Linked DNA regions of Homo sapiens: all the other regions are linked to region 2. The links are contacts of gene promoters, found by promoter capture Hi-C in human tissues and cell types (Jung and others, 2019). All regions are on one chromosome and are shown on one strand. Each heading gives the region's core, a stretch centred on a gene start or on the middle of the fragment in contact. The rest is flanking DNA. Distances are from core to core; before and after follow the strand shown.

What was found. Contacts are between HindIII fragments. The study calls those that stand out against the background at their distance.
Region 1: a fragment that was not itself captured here is called in contact with the fragment with the promoter of C1QA in region 2 in 3 of the 25 tissues and cell types used here (IMR-90 fibroblasts, mesenchymal stem cells and spleen).
Region 3: a fragment that was not itself captured here is called in contact with the fragment with the promoter of C1QA in region 2 in 3 of the 25 tissues and cell types used here (IMR-90 fibroblasts, aorta and dorsolateral prefrontal cortex).

What each region holds. Positions count from the first base shown.
Region 1 is chr1:22,317,982-22,320,794 of GRCh38, forward strand. No RefSeq gene overlaps it. Among named protein-coding and RNA genes, the nearest start is that of MIR4418, 53 kb to the left of the region's middle. The HindIII fragment of the contact is 3,603 bases long and covers 1-2,813 here.
Region 2 is chr1:22,635,178-22,637,877 of GRCh38, forward strand. C1QA (complement C1q A chain) reads left to right here and starts at 1,451. Exons shown (of 3, transcript NM_015991.4): 1 at 1,451-1,525; 2 at 2,433-2,602. The coding sequence starts at 2,440. The HindIII fragment of the contact is 11,741 bases long and covers 448-2,700 here.
Region 3 is chr1:22,377,662-22,380,480 of GRCh38, forward strand. No RefSeq gene overlaps it. Among named protein-coding and RNA genes, the nearest start is that of ZBTB40, 73 kb to the right of the region's middle. The HindIII fragment of the contact is 5,446 bases long and covers 1-2,819 here.

The DNA.
Region 1 (2,813 bases), core at 114-2,613, 320 kb before region 2:
TTGGATGACTTCAGAGATGGGTAGCTCATTACCTTCCAAGGAAGCTGGTTCCATCTTGAATGACTACAATGGGTGGTGGGGAACAAGCTTGGGCCCTGAGGCAGAGCCAGGTGTGTGGGGAGACTGGAGGAGCTGATTGATGCATATAAGTCTGCTCCAGTTGTGTGTGAGAGGAGGGAGTCGGTGAGCCTCAGTTTCCCCCTCTGGCTTCCTTTGGATCAGTGTTGACCTAACTGCAGGTCACAAACTATGAATGAGTCATGACATTAATTTAGTGAGTTGTGACCAGCATTTTTAAAAAGGAATAGAACAGAATAAGATAGAAAATATCAGCATGCATTTCAAGAATTTAGAGGTATCTCTTTCTTGAGACTTTTGCTGTTGGCGTGGGGGCCGCATGCTGGTACAGTGGGCACAGAGGTGTCTTATGGGATGGGTGGGGGCAGGGGCCTCCAGCAGCTCTGAGGGTGGCCTGGAGGGGCCTCTTCCTGCCCACCCTGCACACGCATCCGAGTCCAAGCAGGGGCCCCAGGGGCGGTGGGAACAGGGAGACCCTCTCAGCTCTCCCCTGTGCATCTCGTGGGCTTGGAGTAGTCCCATAAATCGTCTGCCCGGAGTCAGGGGCATAGAACTCCCTGATTTATGCCCCGCCAGGTCCGCCCCCTCTGCCTCCCTCTCGGGCTTTGTGGGGCCAAGGCCTGGCAGGCTGCTGGCTCCAGACGGCCCCTGCGGTTGCCGTGGCGACAGGTTCAGGCTGGGCCATTATCCCGGCTCCCTCACCGCTTCCCGCCCTCAGGCAACCCTCCCTCCCTCGCTCGCATCAGGGCTGGCATTTGAACAGCACCGCGGGCTTCTTCTCCATAAGCCTGGCCCCTCCTGCAGGATGCCCCCCAAGTCCAGTGGGACCCATGCATCCCTGTCACAGTGAAGTGCAGACTTGGAACTCACTAAGGCAAGGAAGGGGTGCTGAGCAAGTGCCTGGCCAGCATGCGGATCCCGCTTCTCCACTTCAAGGCTGGCCGTCGCAGTACCAGCCTCATGGGCTCACTGTAAAGAACTCGTGAGGGTCTACAGGGAAAGGGCTGGTCCCTGAGACCCCTGCAAGTCTCCATTGCCTCATCTGTAAAGTGAGTGTAATGACATTCACATTCATTGCTCTCTCCCAGGACCTGCAGCAGTGTCGGGCACACGGTAGGTGCTCAATGGATGTGAGTGGATAAATGAATCCCATAGATCATTGTAAAAGTTCTTAAATGAGAACATAAGCATGGCGAGTTGAAGGTGGCCATCAGTGCTTTGACAAGCTTCTTACTGAGATGGGGGGATTCACTTCCCGTGCCCCTGGGATCTGGACCCACGTTATGTTCGTCTGTAGCCAACAGAATGCAGCAGGAGTGACGCTGCTGCCCTCCAAGGCCAGGGCAGAAGGACCTTGCTGCTTCTGTGTTAGTCTCTAGGAGACGCCAGCCACCATGTAAGAAACGGATAAACCCTCACACCTGTAATCCCAGCACTTTGGGGGCTGAGGCGGGCGGATCACCTGAGGTCGGGAGTTTGAAACCAGCCTGACCAACATGGAGAAACCCCATCTCTACTAAAAATGCAAAATTAGCTAGGCATGGTGGTGCACACCTGTAATCCCAGCTACTCGGGAGGCTGAGGCACTTGAGCCTGGGAGGCAGAGGTTGCGGTGAGCCAAGATCATGCCATTGCACTCCAGCCTGGGCAACAAGAGTGAAACTCTGTCTCAAAAAAAAAAGAAAAAACAAAAGAAACTGATGACCCTGGGAACTCCATGCTGGCGAGGCCACGTGGAGGCCCTGACCTGCAGGAAGAGAGAGAGGGAGGTACCCAGCCAGGCCCCAGCTCTTCCAGGCATTTGGAATCATCCCAGCTGAGGCAGAGATGAGTAGTCTCCACTGAGCCCTGTCCAAATTACCGATGCATGAACACAAAAGTATAACTTATTGTTCTAATCAACTTTGGATTGATTTGTTCTGCAGCATGGATTTGCTAGAACAGAATTAAAACCCTGAGCTCCATGCCTAGCACACAATAAGTGCTCAGTGAAGTAGTAGTGGGTAATAGTAATAGTAGTAGTTGTTGTTGCTGATGCTGCTGGGAAGCAAAATAGCCTAATAATTCAGAATCGAGGCTCTGGAGTCAGGATGCTTGGGTCTGAATCCCAGTCGCTAATTCTGCAATCCTGGACAAGTTACTTTCCCTCTGTAGGCCTCAATTTCTTCATCTGTGTAAAAGTAGTAACGGGATGCGGATGTGGCAGCTCATGCCTGTAATCTCAGCACTTTGGGAGCTGAAGTGGGTGGATCCTCTGAGTTCAGGAGTTTGGGACCAGCCTGGACAAGAAACAGAGACCCCCTCTCCACAAAAAACTAAAGAGTTACCCAGCTGTGATGGTGCATGCCTGCAGTTTCAGCTCCTCGGGAGGATCACTTGAGCCTGGGAGGATGAGGCTGCAGTGAGCCATGATCATGCCACTGCACTCCAGCCTGAGTGACAGAGCAAGACCCTGTCTCCAAAGAAAAAAAGAAAAGAAAAAAGTAATGATAGTTGACTACATTGTAGGGTTATTGAGAAGATCACATGAGACCATGCTATACACCCTGTTGACACAAAGCCCGTGCTGGCACATGACAGCCACCACCCTCAGCATGGGCATCATCCTCATTATCTTCAATTAGATGTTGAAAGTGCGTGCTCTCATTTTATAAGACCCTGAAGGAGTCAGAGTTGGGAGGAACAAAGCGATTGTTTGCAACCCTCCATCACCAGATGGGATTGGGTTGCTGGTG
Region 2 (2,700 bases), core at 201-2,700:
AGGCTGTTCATGCCAAGGAGCGTCTGCAGGCCAGTGCCGAGCTGCCCTCAGTTTCCCCTTGGCTTTCCTTCCATGCTAGTCAGTGCCCAAAGTCCAGAGGGGGCCAAGGCAGCAGGGGTCTAGTGTGTCAGCACTGCCCCAAGCATGCCCACACCCAGCCAGGCTGCGACAGCACCCAGGCTCAGCACCAACTTTGCTCTAAGATCAGAGTGGGCGCCAAGAGGAGGGAGAAGCCAGGCAGTGGGAGCAGACACTTCTGAGCCTGAAGGGTGGGGCGGGGGGCCTTCCCGGGCCCCCAAGATTGCAGGGATGCCTGGGTCCACAGCTGCAGTTTAGGCAGCTGCAGCTGCATGGGGGATGGCGGGGGCCCCCACCTGCTCCATGAAGCAGGATCAGCTGTGGTTTGGCAGCTGCAGTGGTTCCCAGGAGGGCGGGGTTCCCACTGTCCCCAGCTCCCACTGGCTACATGGAGCATGCAGCCCTGGCCGTGCCTCCCTGCTGCAGCCAGTGTGATGACAGCAGCCATTCCAGACGGCCCGCCATTGCCATCTCTTTTTTTTTTTTTTTTTTTTGAGATGGGGTCTTGTTCTGTCTCCCAGGCAGGAGTGCAGTGGTAAGATCAAAGCTCACTGCAGCCTCAACCTCCTGGGCTCTAGCAATCCTCCCAGCTCAGCCTCCCAAATAGCTGGGACTACACAGGTGCATGCTACCACACCTGGCTATTTTTTAAATTTTTAGTAGAGATGGAGTTTCACCATGTTGGCCAGGCTGGTCTCGAACTCCTGACCTCAAGTGATCCGCCTGCCTTGACCTCCCAAAATGCTGGGATTACAGGCGTGAGCCAAAGCACCTAGACTTGCTGTTTTTTTAAATGTTGGCAAAAGCTAGTGACTAAGTGTTCACCATGTGCCAAGTGTTTTGTATGTGCAAGTCATTAAAATGTTATAATAATCAGATGATATAGGACCCCGTTCCCAGTGTACAGATAAAACTGAGGGCTCAGGAGGTCAAGTAATTTCCCAAAGACATGCAACTAGGAAGCAGCAAGTCTAGAAACAGATTGCTGTGCTTCCTTCTCACCAATGCACTGTTCTTTCTTCTTTGTATTTTCCAAGCTTTTGGCAATGAATTGCATGTCACTTTCATAATCATGAAAAGTCCTACAAGGGACAGATTTTTTTAAAGATTCCTTCCGCTCTGGTGTTCTGTGCTTCGCTGGTTCTCAGAACCTCACCCTGCACGGCCTCCACCCCACATCCTCACAGGCACTGGCCTCACTGCCCCCACTCCCACACCAGCTGTTGCTGGGGCAGGACGCCCAATGTCCCAGTCTTGCTGAAGTCTGCTTGAAATGTCCCTGGTGAGCTTCTGGCCACTGGGGAAGTTCAGGGGGCAGGTCTGAAGAAGGGGAAGTAGGAAGGGATGTGAAACTTGGCCACAGCCTGGAGCCACTCCTGCTGGGCAGCCCACAGGGTCCCTGGGCGGAGGGCAGGAGCATCCAGTTGGAGTTGACAACAGGAGGCAGGTGAGGCCAGAGTCCCAGAGGGAGGGGGCTGCAGAGTTCTGGGACCCAGGGGAGCTGGCCCAGGAGGCTGGGCAGCTGAGGCAGGGAGGGAGGGAAATAACTGTGCCTGATTCTAGGACAGGGATGGGGGTGCAGCACTGATCCAGGACCCAGAATGGGTGAGTGGAGGGACCTTAACTCCTTGAGCCAGGGCTTGGGGGAGGGTGAGAGGCGATGAGTTAGACCTAACAACTGAAGGGTAAGACCAGGGTTCCTGGGTCCTGGCCCCATAACACATAAGAAACCAGGAAAAGCCTGGGGTGCTAGAGCTGGCAGTGGGACCCAGCAGAGGGGACTGTAGGGGCAGCCAGTCACCCATGCTCAGGTGGATGCTGAAAGGCGCTGAGCATGCAGAAGAGTGAGCAGGTGTCGCTTTGGGCGTTTGTGAATTCCTGTGTGTATGCAGAGCTCCACCATCTGGGTGAGCCAGTGTTAATTAAATAAGGAGCAGGCGCTCAATACATATTTGTTCAATGAAATCGATTACCTGTGGGAGTGTATGAATGTGTGTGTCCGTGCAAGTGAGGGACAGGGTCTATTTGGGTATCAGTTGTGTGTCTAGGGGGGTATAGTGGATTTCTGAGTTTGCCTACTGTGTTTTGTAGGTGCGTGGATGAGAGCTGTGTTTGTGTGAGTGTGTGAAGATGTGGGTGTGCTCTGTTGCATGTGTGGATGTGTGTGAGTTTGTGGTTCTGTGTATATGCGTGGGGTCCTGGGGCTGGATTGAGAGTGGACATTGAGAGCCCCAGAGGGTGCATGTGCACTTGGGGAGGACTGTGCATATATCATTGTGTGCATGGGACTCAAGGGTGGGAGCTGGGTGTGAGTGTGATGTCCAACCTGCCCAGGCCCTCCCGTGTCTCCACAGAGGCATCATGGAGGGTCCCCGGGGATGGCTGGTGCTCTGTGTGCTGGCCATATCGCTGGCCTCTATGGTGACCGAGGACTTGTGCCGAGCACCAGACGGGAAGAAAGGGGAGGCAGGAAGACCTGGCAGACGGGGGCGGCCAGGCCTCAAGGGGGAGCAAGGGGAGCCGGGTAAGCACCCTTCCTCGGGACCCAGCCCCTTGGACCTTGGCCTGACTTGGCCTCCAGGGTGAAGGCTTGGGGTGGCACTGAGAATCAGGAGTCCGTCT
Region 3 (2,819 bases), core at 190-2,689, 260 kb before region 2:
GAGTGAATGACTGATTCAGGGAGTGAGTGAGTGAAATATGTATGCTAGGAAACAAGCCACTCTTGTCCTCTAGGCCTCAGGTACCAAAGCCTTCTGTTCCAGAAAGGCCTCCTCTATGGCTCCAGGTTTCAGGAGGTCCCTGAGTAGCCTGTGGTATTTTGTTAGGGAGGATTTGGCAGTGTGTCTCAGAGGGCATCCAAATATCTTGGGCAAGTCACTTAACCATTGGAGAGCCTAAGCTTCCTCGTCTATGAAATGGGGATAAGAAGTCTTCTCTTCCAGGGCTATCATGATGGTTAAATGAAGTAATGCACATAAAGCACTTAGCACAGGGCTTGTGCTTGAAAGCCATTTCACAAGCAATAGCACGATTATCGTTCCTGTTATTAGGCTTTCAGGCCCAGCTCATTTCTGCCCCCTCCAGGGAGTTTCCCTTGACCATCTGCACCCCTATCAGCTGCCTTCTTTTGTAGCAGAATTGACCCGTTTGCCAAGCACTTGGACACTGTCTCCTCCAGGAGTCTTGCTCAAACTTTGGGACATCGGAAACCCCAAGGGGAATGTGTTACAAATGCAGACTCCTAGACCCACCTCCTGAGGACCCTTGCCAGAGGCCTGCTGTGGGGCCCAGGAACCTGCATTTTCACCAACTCCCACACCCTGAGATGATTCTGAAGCAAGACCGTACCTGGAGAACACTCATATGTGCATCATCGCATTTTATAGATGGGGAAACTGAGGTTCAGAGGAGAACACAGATTGGCCCAAAGTCACATAGTGATTCACTGGCAGAGTTGGGCTTGCACAAGAATTTGTGCCTTGTGGACCTGGGCTGGTTCCGCCCTGCTGTGGAGGGGCTCCCTCTCTTCAGACTGAAGCTTTCCTACAGCCCCTCAGCATGCCTTTCACCACTGGGTGCTCCAATTCTGGCCTGCCTCTTGCTTCCAGAACATATGTCCACCAGGGCCCTGAACCTAGTTGGTGCTCAACAAATATCTTCCAGATGATGGGCATGACTCAGGCAGGGCCAACATATTTAGCAGATTTTTTGACAGACAGGTTGGGAATGGCATGAATGACCTGGCCATGGGAGTGATGGAATCTCCAAAATGGCACTAGGAAAAAACCGTCATGCCTTGATGGGTCCCAAAATGTATATAGTTTTTCTTGGTTTTTCTTTTCTCTTGACAGAGATGCTGAATAAACCTGCTAGAATGTAAACTCCAGCAAACGGGAGTTGCCTGGACTTTACCCTCCCCCTGCCTGGCATGCTGTAGGTGCTCAATAAGTGTTGCTGAGAGGAAGGATATGAGCTGTGGACTCTGCTTCCCACTCTAAGTAGTTTGTTCTCACTGTAGATGGTCTGATGGTAACAAAAGTGTTATGTCCCCTGGAGGTGTCCCTGCTCCCCTCCCACAACCCCTCCCAACCCCTCCAGCTGTGGAGAAGGCGGAGATGGAGAATCACGAGTTGGTCCCAGTTCCCATTCTTGGGCCATCTTCTGCAGCTCCGTGTATCTATGGGATGGAGTGTGGGTGGGAAGAAGGCTGATGCTGAAATCGCCACTGCACCGCCAGGCCTGCCATCCCCTCTGGCTGCCCGGCCTTCCTCCATTAGCACTTTGGCGCTGCAGCCCTTGGCTGAGCCCAGACTGGATTTGATTGATTCTTTATGGGCTGCAGATTCGATACCCATGCAGAGCACATGTGGAGGATAAGCCAGGGAGGAGGCGGGGGAGAGAGTTGAGGCCAGGGAGAACCTGGGGGGTCAGACCCTAACCTTTGCAAGACATGGGGCTTCCCCAGGCCTGGCCCAGACCAGGACGCCCCTTCCTGCTGCACCCTCATGCCAATGACTCTGGTTTCTAGAATTGCCCTGAAGTTCATTTCCCAGCAATGTCTGATCAAATAGGGATGTCCAAGGGCAGGCTCTTCAGATGGGACAAGCCCGGGCTAAACGTCCTCCCCAAAAAATGCAATGTGAGCATTGTTCATCTGTTATTGATTGGGAGACTGTGAGCTTTGCTTCCAAAATCTCCAATAAAACTGGCTTGGAAGAGAATTTCCTGAATCCCTGGGTAAGTGGATAAAGATGTTCCAGGAGTCTGGGGTGGTGCCGGTGGGGAAGCTCACACACCATGCACAGTTGGTTTTTCCCTTTGTTACTTAATGAAGAACAGAAAACAATCAGCCTCATCTCTCTGCATCCAGAGTCGGCTCCCTTCTTCCTTTGAGTTAATTTCCGGTTGGAGGCTGGTGCCTGCTTAGCCGGAGGGCCCCCGGGAATCTGCTCCTCTTCTCTTTTGGGTTGGGGGCTGGAGGCGGCTCATTCTTCTGGGCATCCCGTGGTAGGGGTCTTGCACCTGCGTGTGGCATTAGGCGGGTAGGGGGTTTTGAGGGAGCACAATAGAGCATTTGGGAGCTGGCTCAGTTGCTGGAGCAGCCTAGGTTACAGAGAGATGCAGCCAGCTCTGAGGTCCTGTCTCAGCCGTGACCAGCCTTGTGACCTTGGGCAAGGGACTTCAATTTCTGGGCCTCAGTTTCTTCATCTGTGAAATGGGCATCATTTCAACCCCTGCTTCAAAGGGTTATGATAAGGACTCGAGGAGGCTATGGATGTAAGGCACTTGTGTGGTGCTGGTGCAGAGCAAGCACTCAATACATGTGGGTTGTTAGTCCTATTCGCTCCTGACATCAGCAGCTGGGACTCCGCTGACTTCATGGTGAGCCCCAGAGACAAGAGAGATGGGATCACCCTTTCCTTGGACTGTTCCTCCCCTTCCTCCACCCCCACCACAGCCCCCTGGGTCACGGCCGGAA